Regions from separate parts of the Homo sapiens genome. Here all the other regions are linked to region 2. The links are contacts of gene promoters, found by promoter capture Hi-C in blood cells and fetal thymus (Javierre and others, 2016). All regions are on one chromosome and are shown on one strand. Each heading gives the region's core, a stretch centred on a gene start or on the middle of the fragment in contact. The rest is flanking DNA. Distances are from core to core; before and after follow the strand shown. Region 1 has its middle 22 kb from the start of CXCR1. Region 2 holds the start of VIL1 (villin 1). Region 3 holds the start of RNF25 (ring finger protein 25). Region 4 holds the start of GPBAR1 (G protein-coupled bile acid receptor 1). Region 5 overlaps CNOT9 (CCR4-NOT transcription complex subunit 9). Region 6 holds the start of ARPC2 (actin related protein 2/3 complex subunit 2).

What was found. The method cuts DNA at HindIII sites, captures the fragments that hold promoters and counts their contacts. A CHiCAGO score of 5 or more calls a contact.
Region 1: a contact is called between a fragment that was not itself captured here and the fragment with the promoter of VIL1 in region 2, in 1 of 17 cell types (neutrophils). The highest score is 6.5, in neutrophils.
Region 3: a contact is called between a fragment that was not itself captured here and the fragment with the promoter of VIL1 in region 2, in 6 of 17 cell types (fetal thymus, total CD4 T cells, naive CD8 T cells and 3 more). The highest score is 9.0, in fetal thymus.
Region 4: the fragment with the promoter of GPBAR1 here is called in contact with the fragment with the promoter of VIL1 in region 2 in 1 of 17 cell types (neutrophils); the score reaches 5.7 in neutrophils.
Region 5: a fragment that was not itself captured here is called in contact with the fragment with the promoter of VIL1 in region 2 in 1 of 17 cell types (erythroblasts); the score reaches 6.6 in erythroblasts.
Region 6: the fragment with the promoter of ARPC2 here is called in contact with the fragment with the promoter of VIL1 in region 2 in 6 of 17 cell types (naive CD8 T cells, neutrophils, non-activated CD4 T cells and 3 more); the score reaches 6.4 in naive CD8 T cells.

What each region holds. Positions count from the first base shown.
Region 1 is chr2:218,187,314-218,191,095 of GRCh38, forward strand. No RefSeq gene overlaps it. Among named protein-coding and RNA genes, the nearest start is that of CXCR1, 22 kb to the left of the region's middle. The HindIII fragment of the contact is 6,006 bases long and covers 1-3,782 here.
Region 2 is chr2:218,417,616-218,421,165 of GRCh38, forward strand. It overlaps VIL1 (villin 1), which reads left to right and starts at 1,508. Exons shown (of 20, transcript NM_007127.3): 1 at 1,508-1,553. The HindIII fragment of the contact is 19,335 bases long and covers 1-3,550 here.
Region 3 is chr2:218,668,245-218,672,127 of GRCh38, forward strand. RNF25 (ring finger protein 25) reads right to left here and starts at 3,758. Exons shown (of 10, transcript NM_022453.3): 1 at 3,686-3,758; 2 at 361-435; 3 at 1-97. The coding sequence starts at 3,726. STK36 (serine/threonine kinase 36) reads left to right here and starts at 3,842. Exons shown (of 27, transcript NM_015690.5): 1 at 3,842-3,883. RefSeq lists an enhancer at 3,663-3,762. The HindIII fragment of the contact is 499 bases long and covers 1,059-1,557 here.
Region 4 is chr2:218,259,505-218,263,062 of GRCh38, forward strand. It overlaps GPBAR1 (G protein-coupled bile acid receptor 1), which reads left to right and starts at 1,511. Exons shown (of 2, transcript NM_170699.3): 1 at 1,511-1,712; 2 at 3,176-3,558. The coding sequence starts at 3,221. RefSeq lists an enhancer at 1,958-2,763. The HindIII fragment of the contact is 11,967 bases long and covers 1-3,558 here.
Region 5 is chr2:218,581,472-218,585,193 of GRCh38, forward strand. It overlaps CNOT9 (CCR4-NOT transcription complex subunit 9), which reads left to right. Exons shown (of 8, transcript NM_005444.3): 3 at 1,500-1,615; 4 at 3,141-3,250. Among named protein-coding and RNA genes, the nearest start is that of CNOT9, 14 kb to the left of the region's middle. The HindIII fragment of the contact is 8,800 bases long and covers 1-3,722 here.
Region 6 is chr2:218,215,582-218,219,651 of GRCh38, forward strand. It overlaps ARPC2 (actin related protein 2/3 complex subunit 2), which reads left to right and starts at 1,608. Exons shown (of 11, transcript NM_152862.3): 1 at 1,608-1,673; 2 at 1,882-1,963. The coding sequence starts at 1,890. It overlaps LOC101928487 (a long non-coding RNA gene), which reads right to left and starts at 1,605. Exons shown (of 2, transcript XR_923908.2): 1 at 1,447-1,605; 2 at 520-1,270. RefSeq lists an enhancer at 1,617-2,220 and a silencer at 1,742-1,791. The HindIII fragment of the contact is 6,430 bases long and covers 393-4,070 here.

The sequences.
Region 1 (3,782 bases), core at 526-3,025, 230 kb before region 2:
AGCAAGCACCATGTCACAGTTTAACAGGAATGATTTCCTTCCCTGATAACACTCCCTTACATATTCATGAGTCAAGGCTCTAGCAAGTTCTAACAAACTTTTATCTGTCTTTGATGCAGGCTTGCTTATTTTCTCTTACACGTGGCCAGCCGTACCAAGCTCTACCCGATATGGCCCAACCTGCATAGTCAACATTCTGTCTGATGGACTTGGCTGCCAAAGCGGTATCCATGGTTGCAGTAAAAATAAACCTCACAAATGGTGACCAGGGGGCTGGAGGGTGGAGGGGTTCTAGATGGAAACTGGGCAGATGGGAGACAGGTGGGAAGAAGACTCCTTGTGAATAGCTTTTAATTTTTTTTTTTTTGAAACATGTGACATAGTTCCCATTACATATTTTCAATGTTTAAAAAATAATTTTAAAATGTTAAACAGTCATAATTCAACCATGGTGGCAGGAGGTCTGTGGTGCAGCTGAGAAACTGCTCTAAGCTCTGGCATGTGCAGTTGTATGTCTTCTGGCTGCTCTGTCTCAATTTCCACCCACAGAGCCAAGGAAGCCTCCAGCCAATTCCAGGGAGCATCTTTCTGGGCCCTGGGTTTAGAGACCTGTGATTCTCTTTATTCCCTCTGCTCCAGATTCTCCAAATCAGCTCACTTTGGGCTCTCTTGGCCCTGTGTCTTTCCTGTCACTGGTTTGTCAACTGCCTCCACTCAGTGCCTCCCCTTAGCCCTTCCTGTCCTTACGGTTTCTAAATGCAATTCTAATAGCTTCACAAATGTGCTCCTCCACTTTCCTAGGCACCAAGGAAACCTTGACCCACAGGCTTTAATTTTACCCTTGCAGTGAATTCTTATTGACTTTCACTGACCACTGGAACCCACCTACTTGCCCTGAGAACACTCCCATTATCTTTCAATTAAAATAAGACCCTTGATTTATACTTTAATATACATATATCCAGGCTGGGCACAGTGGCTCACCCCTGTAATTCCAGCACTTTAGGAGGTCGAGGCAGGAGGATCGTTTAAGCCCAGGCATTCAAGACCAGCCTGGGCAACACAGTGGAACCTCATACCTCTACAAAGCAATTTTCAAAATTAGCCAGGTGTGGTGGAACACACCTGTGGTCCCAGCTACTCAGGAGGCTGAGGTGGGAGGATTGCTCAAGCCCAGGAGGTCAAGGATGCAATGAGCCATGATCACACCACTGCACTCCAGCCTGGGCAACAGACCAAAACCTTGTCTCAAAAAATAATTTTATATACATATATATACACACATGTATCCAGACTCCTGCTGAAACTACCTCTCCCTGTTCCAATGCCACACATCTAGTTCAGCCTGCAGATGAGTTTCTTTGACTGCCTGGGATTGGTTTCCTTGTTTGTTTAAATTAGAATTGGTTTCTGACTTTTAAACCTTGAGGCTTTTTCACATTTAAAAACATCTGGATTTATACACTCTCCTTTAAAATTTTGAAGATCTGGGCTGGGCGCCATGGCTCATGCCTGTAATCCCAGCTCTTTGGGAGGCCAAGGCGGGTGGATCACCTGAGGTCAGGAGTTCAAGAAGAGCCTGGCCAACATGGTGAAACCCTGTCTCCACTAAAAATATGAAAATTTGCTGGACATGGTGGCATGCACCTGTAATCCCAGCTACTCAGGAGGCTGAGGCGGGAGAATCACTTGAACCCGGGAGGTAGAGGTTGCAGTGAGCCGAGATCATACCATTGCACTCCAGCCTGGGAGACAAAAGCAAAACTCCATCTTAAAAAAAAAAAAAAAAAAAAAAAAAATTGAAGATTTGACAACACTGAGCTCATGGCAAAACTCAGCTAAACCTAGAATGTAAAAGAAATCCTAGAAATAGAGCCACACTTACACCATCACTTGATTTTCAACAGAAGTTCCAAAGCAATCCAGTGAGGGAAAGGAAGGTTTTATCAACAATGTGGGCCAGACACAGTGGCTCACGCCTGTAATCCACGCACTTTGGGAGGCCAAGGCAGGTGGATCACTTGAGGCCAGGAGTTTGAGACCAGCCTGGGCAGCCTGGCGAAACCCCATCTCTACAAAAAATGCAAAAATTAGCCAGGCGTGCTGATATGCACCTATAGTCCCAACTACTCAAGAGGCTGAGGTGGGAGAATTGTTTGAGCCTCGTAGGCAGAGGTTGCAGTGAGCTGAGACCCAGCCTGGGTGAAAGTGAGATTCTATCTGAAAAGAAAAAAAAGAAAGAAAAAGAAAAGAAATCTCATTACACAATCAAACATCACATCACCAGAATGACTAAAAATACAAAAGCATGATAATATCGACTATTAGTGGGTTGTAGTATAGCTGGAATCCTCACATATAATTAGTGGGAATGTAAAATGGTGCAAACACTTTGGTAAAAGGTCTGGCAGTTTCTTCTACTTTCTGACCCAGCAATCCCACTCCTAGGAATATGCCCAAGAGAAATGAAAATAATATGTTCACAAAAATATCAATAGCTTTATTGATAATTGCCAAAAACTAGAAACAGTCCAGGTGTCCATCAATAGGAGAATGGCTAAACATACAGTGGAATAGTCATACAATGGAGTCATTCTCATCAATAAAAAGGACTGAATTACTGATATACTCCACAACATGATGTATCTTAAAAACATTACACTGAGTAAAAGAAGCCTTCCACTTCTATGAAGTTCTAGAACAGGTGAAACTAATCTGAAAATAATCAGAGCAGAAGTTACCTCTGGGAGGATGGAGGCAGAGACAAACCAGCCATGGGGGGACATGAGAGGATTTTTAGGAATGATGGTAATGTTTTCTATATTGATGGGCATTGGGATTACACAGGGGCACCTATTAGTTGAAACTTAGTGAATATACACTTAAGATTTGTGCACTTCATTGTCTACAAATTTTACATCAAAAGAAAACACTAAAGGCCAGGTGCAGTGGCTCACGCCTGTAATCCTAGCACTTTAGGAGGCCAAGGTAGGAGGATCACTTGAGGTCAGGAGTTTGAGACCAGCCTGGCCAACATGGTGAAGCCCCGTCTCTACTAAAAATACAAAAATTAGCAGGGCATGGTGGCGCATGCCTGTAATCCCAGCTACTTGGGAGGCTGAGGCAGGAGAATCACTTGAATTTGGGAGGCGGAGGTTGCAGTGAGCCAAGATCGCACCACTGCACTCCAGTGTGGGCAACAGAGACTCCGTCTCAAAAAAAAAAAAAAAACTATAAACAAATATTGATCTCTAATCAATGATGTACACACTGATGTATTTAGGGAGAAGTATACTGGTGTCCACAGTTACTTTGAAACACATCCAAAAGAATAGATTAATGGCTATAGGGATGGATAATGGATAAATATGAGATAAAGCAGGTAAAATGTTAATGGCAGAATCTAGGTAGTAGATGTACAAGTAGACAGTGAAATTCTGTCAACTTTTCTTTTCTCTTTTTTTTTTTTTTTTTTTTTTGAGATGGAGTTTCACTCTTGTTGCCCAGGCTGGAGTGCGATGGCGTGATCTCAGCTCGCTGCAACCTCTGCCTCCTGGGTTCAAGCAATTCTCCTGCCTCAGCCTCCCGAGTAGTTGGGATTACAGGCATGAGCCACCACACCTGGCTAATTTTTTGTATTTTTAATAGACAGCGTTTCTCCATGTTGGTCAGGCTGGTCTCAAACTCCTGACCTCGGGTGATCCACCCACCTCGGCCTCCCAAAGTATTGGGATTACAGGCGTGAGCCACTGCGCCAGGCCCAACTTTTCTTTATGTTTAAA
Region 2 (3,550 bases), core at 258-2,757:
ACTGTACATTTGGTCTCCAGAACTCTTGGGAGGCTGTGATGAGAAGGACGTACTGCCCTCACCCAGCCCACTTCACGTCACCCTCCTAAGGACCAGGCTTCACAGGTGATAGGAGAATTTCTGCAGTCTGGGAGGCAGCTGCCCAAGGTGCTGAGTTTGCGTGTGAAGCTGGTTTCTCAGCGAGATCCACGCTGGAGTTGGCTGCACAACTTTCCTGCCTGAGTGAGATGGATCCCCTAGGGTCAGGGGTCAGACATGGAAACCTTGGCTTCTGGGAGAGGGTAGCAGAACAGAGTTCAAAGGCACTGGTTTATGGCATCTCATAAAAACTCCAGGTGGGCCGGGTGCAGTGGCTCACGCCTGTAATCCCAGCACTTTGGGAGGCCGAGGTGGGCGGATCACGAGGTCAAGAGTTCAAGACCAGCCTGGCCGACATGGTGAAACCCCGTCTCTACTAAAAATACAAAAATTAGCTGGGCGTGGTGGTGTGCGGCTGTAATCCCAGCTACTCGGGAGGCTGAGGCAGGAGAATCACTTGAACCCAGGAGGCGGAGGATGCAGTGAGATGAGATCACGCCACTGCACTCCAGCCTGGGCGACAGAGACAGACTCCATCTCAGCAAAAAAAACGAAAACAAAAAAAACACTCCAGGTGGAGCCAGTGCCCCTAAGGGTGGAGAGGAGGAGCAGTTGTGCTCACTGGGGCCCTTGCTAAGTGAGGGTCATGCTGAGAAGAGACCTCTAGGAGACCTCTAAGAGACCTCCCATCTGTTCTGGAGGGGCCCTGAGTATAAGTCCCTGCATTCCTGGGTTTGGGGCTTCTGCAACCCTAGAGTCCTGCCTCTCTTTCTCCATGAACCATTCACCCCAGGGCAGGTGGGAGGACAGCTGAGCCTCCTTCTCTTGGTTGGTAGGAGGAAAGGTTCAGGCGCCGCTGACCCTACCTGGACAGTGCTGTCTGCCTGTGGTGAGGGCCTGGGCCCTGGGCAGAAAAGCACCCCATCCCTTGCTCACTCAGAAGCCAAGGGAGGGGCTGGGCGCCGGGCCTCACACCTGTAATCCCAGCACTTTGGGAGGTCGAGGCAGGTGGATCATTTGAGGTCAGGAGTTCAAGTCCAGCCTGGCCAACATGGTGAAACCCTGTCTCTGCTAAATATACAAAAATTAGCCAGGCATGGTGGCACATGTCTGTAGTCCCAGTTACTTGGGAAGCTGAGGCAGGAGAATCACTTGAACTTGGGAGGCGGAGGTTGCAGTGAGTCGAATTCATACCACTGCACTCCAGCCTGAATGACAGAGTGAGGCTCAAAAAAAAAAAAAAGCCAAGGGTGGGGCACATCAGCTCTCATTGTCAGGCTGTGGAGGGCTCTGGGCTCCCAGGGACCTGGCAGCACCTGCCTCCCCACCCCCTCACCTCTCTGGGGCCCTATCTTCCCTTATATGGTGAAGGCAGTTCCTAGAGGAGGGGGGGTGGGGACAAAGGTCGCTCTTCTGCAGCCAGCTTGCCACAATTCCCTGAGATCTCCCAGGTGGCAGCTGCCTCCCCAAGACAGGTAAGGCAACCTGGTGGGAACACATGGAGACCTTAGGTGGTGCGAGGGGACGGGGTCCTCTGCTTTTCTCGGGCAACTTGGGGCCTCCTGGAGCACCTTGGTACGGGCTCGAAGGGGAGGCTTGACACTCTGGATAGCGTGAGAAGTGCTGGGAGCCCAGTGTGTCTGCCCTGGGCCTCCAGGGAGAGACTTTTGCAGGCCCTGCCCCAGACAATGGCTCTCTCAGTCTCCTACCTGTGGCTAGCCCCATCCCACTTTGGGTGTCACCATCCCAATTGCCCTGGAACTTCTAGAGTTAAAACCAGGACAGTGCTGGGCAGACCGGGACTAGTTGGTCTCCCTGACCTCACTCCCCGAGCCCCCTCCCCACCAGCTCATCTCTTTGCCCGTGCGTTCTTCATCTGAAGTGTTTTTTTCTTTGTGTCACCATTCCTCTGACACTCCTGGGACCTCCGGGTCCTGCCTCCTGGCTCCTAGCATATGAGCAACAGCCACCAGCAATTGAATGGGCACACACAGAGGCAAGGGCAGAGGCAAGGGGCTGGAGGTGGCAGGGCCTTAGGTCCTGGGCCATGCCGGGCCACCCTAGCATGCACCTCTGCCCCATCTCCCCTCTACCCGGAGCTGCCCCATTGGCCTCCCCAGCCACTGTGGGCCCATTCAGCAGAACTAGGAATGGGAGCTAGCTGCAGACCAGGCTCTGAGGACACACTGGCTGCTGTCTTCTCGGGACATCATCTGCTGGGGCAGAGCCTTTGGGCTGGAGGGTCTTGGCGGGTGTCCATTCCCTCTTCTATCATGAGCCTGGGAAGCAGGAGGATGTCCTTTGTCTGAGGGGTGGGACTTCACCCCCACTGCCCCACCACATTCCTGTCCAGCTCAGAGCTGCACGACTGGGAACTAGGAGCCGTGGCAGCACCCCACTTACAACAGAGCCGCAACTCAAGTACAACAGGGCTCAGATAAGAAAGGCATGGTGGGCCAGGTGCAGAGCCTCATGCTTGGAATCCCAGCACTTTGGGAGGCCAAGTGGGGTGGATCACTTGAGGTCAGGACTTCAAGACCAGCCTGACCAACATAGTGAAACCCCGTTTCTACTAAAAATACATAATTAGCTGGGTGTGCTCGCGCACGCCTATAGTCCCAGCTACTCGGGAGGCTGAGGCACGAGAATCGCTTGAACCCAGGAGGCGGAGATGACAGTGAGCCAGAATTGCACCATTGCACTCCAGCCTGGGTGACAGAGTGAGACTCTGTCTCAAAAAAAAAAAAAAAAAAAGAAAAGAAAAAAAGAAAAAAGAAAGAAAGGCAAGATGGACCTGCAGACAGTGGGAGCCCAAACCCCTCCAGTGCCCTGGGAGGGTCCTCCTTCCATCCCACAGTTCAGCCTTTCAGCATCATGAGTATTTGTTTTTTTTTTTTTTGTTTTTTTTTTGAGAAGGAGTCTCACTCTTTCATCCAGGCTGGAGTGCAGTGGCGTGATCTCAGCTCACTGCAGGCTCCACCCCCTGGGTTCACGCCATTCTCCTGCCTCAGCCTCCCGCGTAGCTGGGACTACAGGCGCCCACCATCTCGCCCGGCTAATTTTTTGTATTTTTAGTAGAGACAGGGTTTCACCGTGTTAGCCAGGATGGTCTTGATCTCCTGACCTCGTGATCCGCCTGCCTCGGCCTCCCAAAGTGCTGGGATTACACGCGTGAGCCACCACGCCCAGCCCATGAGTATTTGTTGAGCACCTACTATGTGCTAGGAGCTGGGGGCTGCAAAGACAAACATATCTAGGTCTTGGAGCTCAGGGACCTCCAACTTACAAACAGGTTATTTCATCACCATGTGGTCAGGGGGCCAAGAGAAGGGACAGTCCAGGATGCAGAGGGGCCCCTTGTCCAGCTGAGGATTCTAGGAAGGTCTCCTGGAAGAAATGAGATCTAAATTGAGTCTAGAAGAGCATGTTAGTGTCAGAAAGGTGGGGAGAGCTTTCCATATTGGAGCAGTGC
Region 3 (3,883 bases), core at 58-2,557, 250 kb after region 2:
TGGGACCTGAAGCACCAGAGTGAAGCAGACATACTGTGAATCCTGGTCCTCTGCAGTGGCAGGATGCAAAGTGATGTAGATCTCCCATGGTGAAGTTCTGCAGGTGGATCAAGTGGACACGCAGATGTGACTGGGTAGGGGCTTGGGGGCTGGGGAGGATGGGGCTGAGACAGTGAAGTGGGCAAAGGAAGTACACATTGGACTCTTTCTTTTGGGGTAGGATTAAAGGAATAGCTTTTGTCTACACAAGAGAAATATTATCTCTGAATCAAGGCTCACAATGTCTTAAGACCCAAATTCAGCATAGAACCTCTCCTCATTACTAGGGGGACTCCTGCCCACCACTGGTTGAATACATACCTGCCATTTCCTTTAATCACCTGTAGTTCATCTAGATAGATGGACTCCAATACTTCAACTTCAGAGGGAAGGACCCTAGAGAGACAGGAGTAGACTAACTTACCATTACAGCTCTCCCTGTGGAAGCCTGCTAAGGCCAATAAAGGCAGGCTTTGTAGAAAAATGGCAATCTACCAGAATGCATTCTCCTGCTAAACTCCTTAAAAACAAGGAATATGTTACCTTAAGTTGTCAACTGGCCAAATAGAAGGCATGGAAATCAGAATTTTAGGCATCATTTCTGCCAACAGATGAAGAAGTGGATTCTAGAGAAGTAAAATGACTAACCAAGGCTTAACATAGGTAGAACTAGGCCCAGAGCCAGGTTTCCTGACTCCCTGTTTAAGTTTCATTCCCCTTAGTGGCTGAATCTCTGGTCTAGAGATATGGCACTCATTCATTAGCATTAACGTTACCAATATTACTCCAACCTTTCCCTACGTCACTGTCCAGTGTGGATCCCAGTGCCTTGGCTACTGTCTACATACAGTTTTAACACCAGTCACCCTAAGCCTTCTTAAAGGAGATAGCAACCTCAACACAACATATTTAGGGTGGTATAAAGGCTGTGTTGTAATGGAAGAGCCAGCAGCCTCGGAGTTAGTTAACAGGTACCAATCACTTACAAGCTATGCAATCTGGGACGTGACCTCTCTGTAAGCTTAAGTTATCCTGTCTGTCACATATAGATAATAACACCTACTCTCTAGGGTTATTGTGAGGATAAAAGGTGATTTGTTTACATAAAGTACCTAATAGTATCTGGGCTATCGTAGCTAGTCTACGTCCTCTTTTTTTCCTGTCTGTATATAACCTTCTCCCTTAGAAGGAAAGAGGGAAGGAAGGAGGTAATAGAGTACTCTGGATGTATTTATGACCTGGCTGTCTGGTTGATCTAGATCAGCCTGTTGAGGTTAGGATCCATGGTTCTGATGTAAATCAAGGGACACACATACTTAAGCATAGAAACAGCAGTTGTAATGAAATTGAAGCTGAGTGATCAGTTTGTGTCTACAGCTCTACCAAGTGATACATGGAAAAATGCACACTTTGCTTTCTCACACTGCTCCCTCTTCATTCTAAGAGTAAGGCTGCCCCAGCACGACCTATGTCAGTGTTGTTAAGTCTTAGGCAGAAACTTCAAAATATAAAATATAAAGCTTCACACCTCACAGATAACAGTGTAGTTCTGGCTGACATGGGAGTGGGAGTCTCACAGTACTACAGGCTGCTGCACTCATTGTTGCTGTCTCCATGGCTCAAGGTGTCTCCCCTGAATCTTAAAAGTTCCCCTGAACAGGTAAACTGTAAGTTATCCCAGCGCTTTGGGAGGCTGAGGTGGGAGGATCACTTGAGGCCAGGAGTTCGAGACCAGCCTGGGCAACAAAGCGAGACACTATCTCTACAAAAAATAAAAAATTAACTGGACACGGTGGTCCCAGCTACTTGGGAGACTGAGGCAGAAGAATCACGGGAGCCCAGGAGGTCGAGGCTGTAGTGAGCCATGATCTTGCCACTGTACTCCAGCCTGGGTGACAAAGTAAGACTCTGTCTCTTAAAAAAAAAAAAAAAAAAGAAGTTTCCCTGAACACTTTGAAAACCAGTAGTCTAGATACTCTTAATAACGGCCAGTACTAGCTGGGCTCCCTGAACCAATGTAACATTGAGGTGTAGCCTCAGTCAAGTGGCCCTTCAATACTTCGCCCACCCTAGTTATATGGGTCCTGGATGGGATGGTGGTAAGGTGGTGACAACAAAATGGGGGAGGGGGGCCGGGCGCGGTGGCTCAGGCCTGTAATCCCAGCACTTTGGGAGGCTGAGGCGGGTGGATCATGAAGTCAGGAGATAGAGACCATCCTGGCTAACAGGGTGAAACCCCGTCTCTACTAAAAATCACAAAAAATTAGCTGGGTGTGGTGGCGGGCGCCTGTAGTCCCAGCTACTCGGGAGGCTGAGGCAGGAGAATGGCATGAACCCGGGAGGCGGAGCTTGCAGTGAACCGAGATTGCGCCACTGCACTCCAGCCTGGGCGACAGAGCAAGACTCCGTCTCAAAAAAAAAAAAAAAAAAAAAAAAAATTGGGGGAGTGGGGACTGAAGAATGTCCTAGTACAAAGAATCTAAGGTGTGGAGTCAGACAGATATGGATTTCTATTCATAATTTTCTATCTTTTGGCAAATCACTTTACTTCTTTGGGACTCATCTAGTCTTCCCAGGTGCCTGCACCTCAGTTATTAATGAAAAGGAGGCCGGGTGTGGTGGCTCACGCCTGTAATTCCAGCACCTTGGGAGGCTGAGGTGGGAGGATCACTTGAACCCAGGGGTTCAAGACCAGTCTGGCCAACATGGCAAAACTCCGTCTCTACAAAAAATACAAAAATTAGCCAGGCATGGTGGCACACACCTGTAGTCTCAGCTACTCGGAAGGCTGAGGCAGAAGGATCACCTGAGCCTGGGGAGGTCGAGGCTGCAGTGAGCCGTAATCGCACCACCGCACTCCAGCGTGGGCGAGAGTGAGACTCTGTCTCAAAAAACAAAACAAAACAAAACAAAAAACAGACTTAAGTATATTACAAATCCGTCGTGATCCTCTCAACTATTCTGAGGTAAATGCCACACCCACTTTTTTTTTTTACAGCTGAGGACACTGACTCACAGAAGCTAGATGGCCTGTTCAGCATCACACAGCTAATAAAATGTGGAGTTAACCCACATTGATCCTACTTCCAAATCCCAGAGTCCTTCCATGTTCTAGTCTTTGGTTAAGAATGCTTGAGAGAAGGACTAGAGGGACTTTATATGAAGTGTAAAGCTTTATTCATACAATAGTCCTCACTAGTGCTGTGTGAGAGAGAGAAGGCTGAGGAAAGCGTCGGCGGAAAAAGGCTGATCCAAGGGGAAAGGGGGCCGGAACTGGAGGGCACTGGTTCTGAGAGGAGAAAGGGAGATGGGGAGGTCTGATGGGCAGGCATCCCCCAAAGCCCCTGAGAAAATTCATTTGAGGAGGAGAGAAAGGGATGGCGTGAAGCTGGAGGAAAAGGGATCGAACCGGATGCGGCGAGGCCTGAACTGGCCTGGCGGGCGCCGACCCGTTCTCCTCTCACTCAGATCAGCGCCCCTCCACCCTCCCGTTCCCCAGTCCAGCTTTCCCAGAGATGTCAGCATCTCTGCCATCCCTCATCCCTCGCTCCACCCCACACGCCCGCCGTACGGACCGTCTGCGACAGCTGCTAGGCCTCTGGACTAGATCCAGGCTGTCAGCCAAAGCCCATGCCCCCAAAGTTACCAGTCCTCCTCCCCTGCAGCTGCAGACGCAGACGCCGCCATATCTTCACCGGCCCGCAGCCGGAACCGGAAATGCCCTTAGGGAAGTCGGAGGCGGAAAACTAAGAGGGGTGGGCAGCTAGCGTCGTTTCTAGGCAACCGCAGACTCCGGGTCCTTAGCCGGGCCTGATGGCCCTGAGGCAGTTCGGATGTGTCCCAG
Region 4 (3,558 bases), core at 261-2,760, 160 kb before region 2:
ATCCCGTGGTTCTGAGGACCGGCCCTGGAACCCTGCGTCCTTCCGACCCACCAGCTCCCTCGAGGATGGACTTGAGGCTGGATGCTTTCCTCTTCCCACTTTTTGTCCCAACAGAAGTCCCTGATCTCCAGGATCCCTGACTGGCTGTGCAGAGCTGGCACAGCCACACTCCACGGGCTTCCAGCCCTTCAGGCCCAGCTCTCCCGGAGAGCACCAGAGTCCCTTTGCTCCATTTACTTGCGCTCTTCAGCCAGCAAGTGTTTCCTAATGTCTCACCCCCAGTCCCAGCTTTCCTGCTGCAATTTCCGCCTGTTCCCTCCCATTTCAGGCCTTAAGGGAGTGTGGCTGGGCTTCTCTCCTCCCCCTCACTCCAAAGCCGCACTTGATACAAGGTGGAAATCAAAGCACCACTTCTGGCTTCCCAGCCTTGAACTTGCCCTTCCCTCTCAATGTATCTGGTTTCCTCAGCTTCCCTGTGCAGCAAGAGTGTCACTCCCCTCTTGCTTTTCCCAAGCTCCCCATGCGCCCCTCTCAGCAGATCTGTCTTAGAGGGGCCAGGTGCAGAGAAAGGCAGAAATCCTAATAATGTTCCCAGCGATCGCTGCCTGTCGCGGAGTGCTGAAGGGCCAAGTGTTGATCTGAGTCCTCATCACACGGGACTTCATTTAGTCTCACGATAGGTGAGTACAACTATGGGCCCCATTTGACAGATGAGGAAACTAAGGCAAGGGAACTTTAGTCATTTGCCCAAGTTCACTGGCTTTTTTAAAAAAGGATCCAGACAGCTCTGATTCCAGCGCCAGCTCATGCCTCTTCATCATGGGGGAGGAAAGAGAGGGAGCCATTTGTTGGGGCAAACCCCCACCCATCAAGGGCCATGCACTGGGGTATATGCCGCCATATGTGTTATCCTGTGATATTCCCCACCACGACCTTAATTAGAGGTGGTTTTTCTTGTTCCCATTTTAACACAGGCAAAAACCGAGGCCCAGTAGTACCTTACCCATGGTCACATCCCCAGAGCCATTTGTCCCTCATAGTTCAGAACTTGACTCAGAAAGCAGTTGAGAAAAGTGTGGAATGACCCCAGATTCAGGAAGGCAAGTCTGGCCTTAGAAACTGAAAGGCCCATCAGGTGATGGGATGGGGGAGTGAAGATCCTCAGGCCCCAAACACCTGCCACTGCCACCATCACACACGGAAGTGTGGAGGGAGCCTGGTGTGCTGTCAGCTGGCTGGCCAGTCCAGGGGCTTAAATGTAAATGCATCAGCTGAGGCGGGAAGTCGGGAGGGGTAAGTCAATCATTATTATTCATTAACTGGAATGCATTTCTCAGATTACTCCGAGCTGGAGTAGGGAAACTGCCACCTAGGTGGCAGGGGGAGAGGGGAACTGGGTGGGAGGGGGAGGCAGGCCTCCCAGTTGCTGCAGTTTGGAATATGTCAGGTCCCACCCTCCCAGAGGCGGGGCCAGGGCTGAGTCCTGCCAGCCTCATTTCTCTATCCCTCTGAGAACCCAGACGGGCAGAGCCTGGGTAGGAGAGCCTGGCCCCGCTGTCCCCACTGGGTGGAGACACCATGCACTTGGTCCACTTGTGCTCTTCAGCCAGGACACCAGACATGGTCCAAACCGCTGCAGGGCTGGCTGCAGCAACTCCCTGACACTCAGGAAGGCCCAGGCTGGGCAGGCAATACCTGCTCCCAACAGCCATGTGAGTAGCTACTCCCCCAAACCCCCAAACCCCAGATCCTGGAGAGGCTACTACACCCAGCCCAAGCCACCAGACCCTCGGGGGTGTGCAGGTGGTACAGCCTGCACCCTGCTGGGAAATCACCCCTGGGGGCTGCTCCCTGCCTTTGTCGCTGTTCTAGTGGAGGTGGGTTGGGGGGAATCATTCCGATTAGGGCTGGGAGCTCCAGCTCAGGCCAGGTTTGGGGTAATGGACCCTGAGTCTCACGGGACTTAAGAGAGTTGATGATGCCCTGGGAAAGGGAACAGAAACTGCAAGGCCTCTAGAGAGGAAAAGACATCCTGGGTGGAGGGCACTGGAAGAGATTGAGAAAGAGAAAACATGCTTAGGGGAGGGGAAAGGGGGCATAAGGCCTTGGAGGCCCAGGCTCAGGGTGCTGGGGGAACCTGGGAAGGAAGGGGAGCATCTTCCTTCCTCTCAGCTCAGGGCAGCCATGGGGCCCTGATCCCCTGTCCTGGAGGAGGGGAGAGGTATGAATCCTTTCCTTATTGACTTGGATCCTAGCAACAGCAGCTGCTCCCCTGTTGACAGAAGCAGGAGTTCCCACAGGACCCAGGACCCCTCCCCCTGTCCCCAGGATGTGGCAGCAGAGCCATGACACTGGAGGACTGAGACCAGGGAATGACGGGAAGGACAGGGACAGATGAGAGCCACAGAGAAGCCAGACTCTGCCCAGACTCCTCTTCCCTCTCCTCTGGGCTCAGCCTCAGGCCTGGGGGTGTGGGGGAGTCCCTCTCCTTGCTGCTGGCATCTCCACGTTCACTGCCACACGTGCCCTCCAGCTGCTTCTCTCCTCCCTCCAGCTCCCAGGAAGGACCCTGTTGCTAGTGTGGAGCAAAGACGAGTCAAGTTTATGGGCTGGAAGTCCTACCCGGAGGCTGCTCACTGAGCTGTGATGGCTACAAGGACAGATGGGGGGAAGGGTGCAGGGTGCCCGAGACCTGGCCCGCTGGAGCCTGTCACCTAATGGCTGGCTGGAAGACCACTACACACCAGCCAGCCCTGGTCCATTCTCTCATTTAGAGGCCTCCCCGGTGGAGGCAGGGATACACAAAATGCTTTGGGGCTGGATGGGCCCGCCTTTCAGTCTAAACAAGAGACCTCAACACAGCTGCCCAGAAAAGGCAGATACCAGAAATGGATAAAGCTGGCTGGGTGGGGACTGTCCGAAGGGCAGCCAGCAGTGAGCTCCGGCTGGTTGCTACCACACAGGACATATGTGTTGCCAGACCTGAATTTTCAATAGAAACCAAAGATAGTTTTTTATATAAATGTTTAATTGGCAATTAATTGAAAAATTCTGTGTATCAGCGAACATGATACAGCCCACAGCCTGCGGGTCTGCGCCCCTGGATTAACATGCTGCCCTGCCAGGAGGACACGACCTGCAGCCCCATCCTAACTCTGGCCACCCCATCCTGCAGGCATGCCGGCTGCCGCTCCAGGACTCCCCTGTCCCCAGGACCAAGATGACGCCCAACAGCACTGGCGAGGTGCCCAGCCCCATTCCCAAGGGGGCTTTGGGGCTCTCCCTGGCCCTGGCAAGCCTCATCATCACCGCGAACCTGCTCCTAGCCCTGGGCATCGCCTGGGACCGCCGCCTGCGCAGCCCACCTGCTGGCTGCTTCTTCCTGAGCCTACTGCTGGCTGGGCTGCTCACGGGTCTGGCATTGCCCACATTGCCAGGGCTGTGGAACCAGAGTCGCCGGGGTTACTGGTCCTGCCTCCTCGTCTACTTGGCTCCCAACTTCTCCTTCCTCTCCCTGCTTGCCAACCTCTTGCTGGTGCACGGGGAGCGCTACATGGC
Region 5 (3,722 bases), core at 19-2,518, 160 kb after region 2:
GAAAGGAAATGTTGAAGGTATAACAGCTGTAGTATTAAAGGTGGGTACACTTGTACATTAAAGAATAGATAACTGAAGTTCAGTTCAAACCAGAATGGTCACTGGTGGCTAATTAACTGATATGGTACAATAACAATACCAAAATACCTAGGTAGTGGCATGATCATCCATTAAAGTATTGCCCCAAATTCCTAACAATTAGATTAACTTTTCAACTCTTAAGTAAATTCACATTCCATCTCTATTGCATTTAGCCAAGAAACTGATCTTTGTTATGGGAACGTTTTTCTATGTAAAAGTTTTACAAATAATGTAAATGGAAAATTGTAGCCAGGTGCAGTGGGTCATGCTTGTAATCCCAGCAGTTTGGCAGACTGAGTTAGGAGGATTGCTTGAGCCCAGGAGTTTGAGACCAACCTGGGCAACATGGCGAAACACCATTTCTACAAAAAATACAAAAATTAGCCAGGCTTGGTGGTACACTCCTGTAATCCCAGCTACTTGGGAAGCTGAAGTAGGAGGATCAATTGAGCCCAGGAGGTGGAGGCTGCAGTGAGCCATGATCATGCCACTGCACTCTGCCTGGATGACAGAGTGAGACCCTGTCTCAAAAAAAAAGAAAAAAAATGTAAATGGAATTGTATTGAGTAAATCATTACTTTTTGACAGATAGTGCATATATTCACTGCTGTTTATACATATCCCCACCCATTGATTCATGTCCTTACCATGTTACTACCTAACCAAATTCAAACTTCTTTATGAGTCACCGTGGTTGACTTAACACTTTCTGGCCAGTGATCTCATCACTGTAACTTAAAGCAGGATGCTAGCAAAATTATAAAAATTTGAGTATCCCTCAACTGATAGCCTCAGTAGCTGGAGAATATAAGAGGAAGTGTAGATGACTACATTTGCCTCCACAGAAATCTTCCTAGGCCGGGCGCAGTGGCTCACGCCTGAAATCCCAGCACTTTGGGAGGCCGAGACGGGCAGATCACGAGGTCAGCAGATCGAGACCATCCTGGCTAACACGGTGAAACCCCATCTCTACTAAAAATACAAAAAATTAGCTGGGCGTGGTGGCAGGCGCCTGTAGTCCCAGCTACTCTGGAGGCTGAGGCAGGAGAATGGTGTGAACCTGGGAGGCAGAGCTTGCAGTGAGTCAAGATCGTGCCACTGCACTCCAGCCCGGGTAACAGAGCGAGACTCCGTCTCAAAAAAAAAAATCTTCCTAGAGACAAATGTAGAAATGTGAGTCTCAAAAAAAAAAATCTTCCTAGAGACAAATGTAGAAATGTCTTAGCTAGTCTCAGCCAAGTAAGTTTGTGATGAAAGGATATGAGCATTATTTCTGCTCCCTCTTTGATGACTGAGTTCTTAAAAGATGCACAGAATTAAGAGCTATTTTATTTGCCTTTTTTTTTTTTTGCTTTATTACCATGGGAATTAATTTTTAGTTATTCCTTATTCATCTGATGCTGATTTCCATTTTTTAGGAAATTGTAAATATTTATCCATCTATCAACCCACCCACCTTGACAGCACACCAGTCTAACAGAGTTTGCAATGCTCTGGCATTACTGCAATGTGTAGCATCACATCCAGAAACCAGGTAAATGCTTTGGGTGAGTCACTTGGGGGAGATATACATTGAATATGGTCCTAAACGTTCTCTGAATAATAAAAGGAAGGGCATGGAGGAGAGAGAGAGAGAACGTTTGTGTGTGTGTGTGTGTGTGTGTGTGTGTGTGTGTGTGTGTCTCTCTCTCTCTCTCTCTCTCTCTCTCTCTCTCTCTCTCTCTCTCTCTCTCTCCTGGTCTTCCGGATTCTTATTTACTTTTACCCAATGAACTTTAAAGAAACAGTGTTCACATTACAGGAAAGGTATCAGGCATACAGCTACTTCTCACTCCCTGACCTGTTATTGACACTATGTCATCTGTGAGGCATAGTGCATGGCATATAAGAGGAGTTTAGTAATTATTTTTCCAGCACTTTTCCCACACTGAACCCAGATTTGACTTCAGAATCCTTCTTAACATAGCATTCTGGGCGGCCTCTATAATAGACGAGAATTGGCATGTAAGTTAAAATATTTTTGCCACCTGTCATATCTAAAAAATTAAGAAAAGGGAAATCCTGTTCAGGAATCTACTTTGTGGGCTTTTATGGCCCCAAAGGCACTTAATAGTCATCTTATTAAAGCCTTTCCTCTTTGTCAAGTTTCCTTATGAAATATGTATGCTAGGTTGGCACTGACCTTACACAGCTTTAGAGAAATTACTAAGAAAATTACTTTTAAGCACTTAACAAAAACACAAGAGTACTTTGAGTGTTAAAAATCTTGGGCGTTGGCTCTTCTACAAGGTGTAACTATAAATAATATAAAATAATAGACTGATTTCCTTATTAGTTGCCTGACTAAACTGTTTTCAGAATGGTTTGTGTATCTGAAATGCCCTAACAAAAAAAGAAGAATGTGCTTATTAAAGTATAGCAGGTAAGCCTGATAATGGCTGCTTTGTTTTGTTGTATTGGTTTGTAAGGTTTATTCGACTGCACCTGTGAATACTATTATTCAGTCATAGGTGAGGGAGATAATCTAGGACAATCTCTTGGACACTTAATAGCATTTTGTGGTCTATTTTTTAAAATCCACAATTGGATATTTTAAGTTAATCAGTTTGTAAGGTACTTTTTGCTGATTACAGGGAAAATCATGTGTTTTCTTAACCACTGTGATCTGGACTAGGGTTTTCAGCTTTGGCACCATTACCATTTGGGGCTGGATGAATCTTTGTGATGGAAAGGAGAGGGCAGGAGAGGACTGTCCTGTGCATTGTAGGATGTTTAATGGCATCTCTGGCCTCTTCCCACTGGATGCCAATAGTGCTTCATAATCCTGAGTTGTGACAATCAAAGATGTCTCCAGACATTGCCACATGTCCTCCAGGGGGCAAAATTTACCCCATTTGAGAACCATTGGTTGAGACTAATGACCAGTAACATTGTTTTCCTAAGGATTCCTTGCTCTGACAATGTTAAGGCCTTACAGAATTAACCACCTAGAAATTTGAAAGTTCAGGATCCTTAGAAATCAACCCTGGGCTGTGAATGTAATTATTGTTTTCTTCCAGGTCAGCGTTTCTCGCAGCACACATCCCACTTTTTTTGTACCCCTTTTTGCACACTGTCAGCAAAACACGTCCCTTTGAGTATCTCCGGCTCACCAGCCTTGGAGTTATTGGTAAGTTATTAGAATTGTTTTGCAAGCCTGAAATACTCACAGTAGTAGTCTAAGTTGGGTGTTTTGTCTTGCCGGTTATGATTTTTGTACACCAGTCATTCATTTTTGTCTTTGAGGTTGTCTCATTCACTAATCAATAAGTATCAGGAACATGATGACTCCTATCAAGCACTCTTCTAAGTGTTGTTAATAAGACTTTGAGATCCAACATTTGGGATTAAATTCAGCATATATGTGGAAACATTTGCTGGAATTGTAGGGAGAGTAAAGCATAAGAACTTGATTCAATATATAAAGAGTATTATTAAAGGAATAAGAGTTTAAATTTGGGACTTCTCCTCTTCCCTTCTCTCTTCTCTTCTCTTCTTTTCTTTTCTTTTCTTTCTGATAGGGTCTTGCTGTGTTACCCAGGCTGGAATTGAACTCCTAGGCTCAAGTGATCCTCCTGCCTCAGCCTCCCAAGTAATAGGGA
Region 6 (4,070 bases), core at 358-2,857, 200 kb before region 2:
CAGCTTGGGTGACAAGAGTGAGACACCATCTCAAATTAAAAAAAAAAAAAAAAAAAGGCCGGGCATGGTGGCTCACGCCTGTAATCCCAGCACTTTGGGAGGTCGAGGCAGGAGGATCATGATGTCAGGAGTTCGAGACCAGCCTGACCAACATAGTGAAACCCCGTCTCTACTAAAAATACAAAACATTAAAAGGGCATGGTGGCAGGCACCTTTAATCCCAGCTATTTGGGAGGCTGAGGCAGGAGAATCGCTTGAACCGGGGAGGCAGAGGTTGCAGTGAGCCGAGATCATGCCATTGCACTCCAGCCTGGGCAAGAGTGCAAGACTCTGTCTCAAAAAAAAAAAAATTTAAGTTAGCGTATAATTTTAGGGGATCAGCAATATCCTGAAGCTTATCCATAGCCCGTTAAGTAATGTTTCAAAGGGCTATCTGTGCCTTAATGATAGGAGCTAGTTTCTTGTTCATTTTTTTATCCCCATCCCCAAACACATAGCAGAAAATAAATTATTTCCTTGTATGTAGAACGGACTCAGCTAAGTTTATTATATTCTCCCCGGAGGAGGGAAAACACAAAACAAGGCACAAAGGCAGAAGGTGCAGATGTAGCACAACGATGAGTTAAGATTCCGCACGCAGGTAACAAGGAGGGTATGGTATATCTCTGCCAGAGGTACTGGAAGGTTTCAAAGGCAGAAAAAAATGTGTTCCGGACACCTGGACGCAGAATTGGAGGCATGACAGGAACACAGGGAGGCCCATCTAAGTTGCCTATTCACCCAGGTGACCTCTCTTTCATTTCTTTAATTGTCCTTTTAACAATATGGGGAATTTCACCCAAGGAAAGGGTCCTCTTCTCGCCCCAGCAGGCAAGGGGTGTTCCTCCAGCGCAAGTTCCGGCCCCAGCTGCCCCCACGTCCCACAGGTCTCCTGCCTTTTGGCACGCACACTCCTGACCACTCGCTGCTTCCGCATCCCTACTCTGATCCTCTCCCCATGCATCTCTGCCTCCTTAGACAACTGAGAATTTTATTGTCTGTTTCCTTTGCCAGACTGTAAGTTCCACGAGGGCAGGGCCTCGTCCATTTCATTTACCACTACATCCCCAGTATAGAGCAAGAGCCCATGAAAATGTTTGTTGGAGAAATGAATGCATGATGGTGTCGCTGGACAGCTATACCTGGAAAGAAAAAGAGGCACCCCCATCAAACAAGCTGGGAGCTAAGAAGCCCGCTGGGAGACGACAAGGGCGAGCTTCTTGCGAGGTTTCTGAAATGACAAGACCGGAAGAATGGAGTTGGATCTCTGGGACAAGCGGGAGAGAGAAGCTGAACAGTCAGGCAAGCCTCGGGGAATGACAGCTCCGCGGGGGACGCACTGGTAGGCGGTAGACGTAAGCGGGGTCGGTGGGAAAGTAGACGGTGGGGCGGCGGCATCACACATACGCAAGCGCAGCCTCCGTTTCCTCCGGCGCGCCTGCGCTCGCGTTCACGAGTGGTTGAAGCGGAAATGGCGCCGCGGGGCCGCGCGTCCAGGCGGCGAGCGGAAGTGGGTGTGAGAGCGGAAGTGGCCGGCTAGAGCCGGGGGCTGGGCGGGGACCGGGCTTGTCGGTGAAGCGGCAGTGGCGGCGGCGGCGGCGGCTCGGCAGGCGGGTTCAGGCTTCGGGGGCCAGGTCGGTTGGGTGGGTGGGTGTCTCCACAGTCTGCGTGCGTGGGCCAGCGCGTTCGTCTTACCCTTCCCTCCACCCCGGCCCCTCTCCCCTTCTCCCCTAACCTCCTACCCCACCCAGCCCCACTCAGGGGGCAGCAGGGCCGCTCCCTCCGTCCTTGCCTCCCTTACCCACCCTCACCGGCCCTTGTTTCTCCTTCCCCTGGGGGCAGCCGCCGCCATGATCCTGCTGGAGGTGAACAACCGCATCATCGAGGAGACGCTCGCGCTCAAGTTCGAGAACGCGGCCGCCGGGTGAGCGCGCGCCCGGGGCCGGGGGTGGCGGGGGAAGCAGAGTTGACCCCAGCTAATCCCCAATGTTGTCCAGTCCCCCAGACCTGGAGGAGAGAAATGGGGTGCCTGGCAGGGTGTAGGGGCTGCCCCAGCGGGGTAGACGTGGGAGGCGATTGGGCGCGGCCGGGCGAGGGGCAGAGATGCGTGGGGAGAGGCTCAGAGGAGGGATGCGGAAGCAGCGAGTGGTGAGGGCTGTGCGTGCCAAAGGGCAGGAGACCTGTGGGACGTGGGGGACCCTGGAGCCGGAACTCGCTCCGGAGTAGCCCCCTGCCCTCTGGGGCGAGAAGGGGACCCCTTCCCTGCGTGAAATTCCCCGGCATTGTTCTGAACCCAGAGAGAGCCTGTTTGGAATTGGGTTGGAAGGAGTTTTCAGGAATTCCCAGGACTGGAGGAGGGAAGGAGATGCAGGCCCACATCGCCACCAGCATTCTCGTTCCCCACCCCCATCTCCTTTAAAAGGAGCAGAAGAGAAGACTAAAAGCCGACCCAGTCTTAGAGCCGGAAAAACGCGATCTCTGGTTTCCCTTCCCCGAACCCTTCTGTGAGAGACACTGGGCCATTTTGTTACATATTTTTAAAGCAAAGCCAATTGTCCCTCGCTCCACACCCCTTCCTTATCTCTCCTTTGAGGTTCTAATGCTCTCTCCTCACCCACTAGCCTTTATCTGGTTATCTTGTAAATTCTTACATCAAGACCCTAGGTCTGTGATTTCTTCTGTGGTAGCCCTGGCCCAGTTACACACTTCAAAGACTCCAGAATCTATAAAGTTCTTAGATAACCTGTCTTTACGATTGGACTTTTTAAAAGATGGGCTTAGGGCATCTTTCCAAGGCAGCCTCTCTGCCAAACACAAGAATCAGTAGAAGACAATCTGCTCCTCCAAAGCTGCTTTGCTTTTCTAGTATAATATTTAAAACATGAGCTAAGGATTTTGGGTTCTAATTTTTGGTGGCCTGTGGCCAGTCCCTTTGCCTCATTTCCCTATGTATGAGCATGGGGCTTCACATCTGGGTTTCACAGTTAATAAGTGCAGACCGTTTCTGGTGAACTGGGAACTAGTAATAGGAAAGTGCTTGCAGATCCACAGATGGGAGAAGATTGGTAGAGGGGAATTTTTAAGTGGTCATAATGTACTTGTGGCTTGGAGGCATTAGAAAGTATTAACTGCCATTTAAATTGAATATATAGTATGTCCTGTCTCCTTTATAAGGCCACAGATTTTATCTGTAAAACAAAGCACTACTTTCCTTGAAGTAATACGTGTAGTGAGCAGTACTGTTTCCTGCCAGGGGCTGCAGTTGGTTATATTTGAGGCTGACTTGCTTCTTTCTTGTCTTAGCCTCTCTTACCAGTTTCTTTGCATTTTAAATATTCAAATGAATCAGCCCAGAGTCTTATTTTGGGTGATTGCTGTATACTTTTTTCTGAGCAGTGTAACACATAGGAGGAAGTTGAATTAACTTCTGCATTTTCATAACTGATCTTAATGCATTCTCAGGTCCAGACTAGCAAAGAATGAGACCTGGGCGGTTATAAGCTGATCTACAAGATAAATGGCTGTGTATTTTCAAGTAGAGGCATGTCTTTTAACATAGGAGTACATTCTCATCTATTTGTGTATTAATGACTTGTGATTCCAAAATGTGGCCCATTATTCGGAACTTCAGTTCTTTCTTTTTCTTTTAGAAAATTATTCTTAAAAAGAGAAGCTAACCATTTCGGAGGGATTAAATAGGCCCTCAAGTCTGGAAGACATAAGTTAGAACTTCCAGGACTTTTTTTTTTTTTTCCGAGACAGAGTCTCTCACTGGCTGGAATGCAGTGGCGCGATCTCTGCTCACTGCAACCTCGCCCTCCCAGGCTCAAGTGAGTCTCATGTCTCGGCTTCCCAAGTAGCTGGGATTACAAGCACGTGCTACCACACCTGGCTAATATTTGTATTTTTAGTAGAGATGGGGTTTCACCATGTTGGCCAGGCTGGTCTCAAACTCCTGGCCTCAAGTGACCCGCCCGCCTCGGCCTCCCAAAGTGCTGGGATTACAGCACTGCTCCTTTCCTCAGGACATT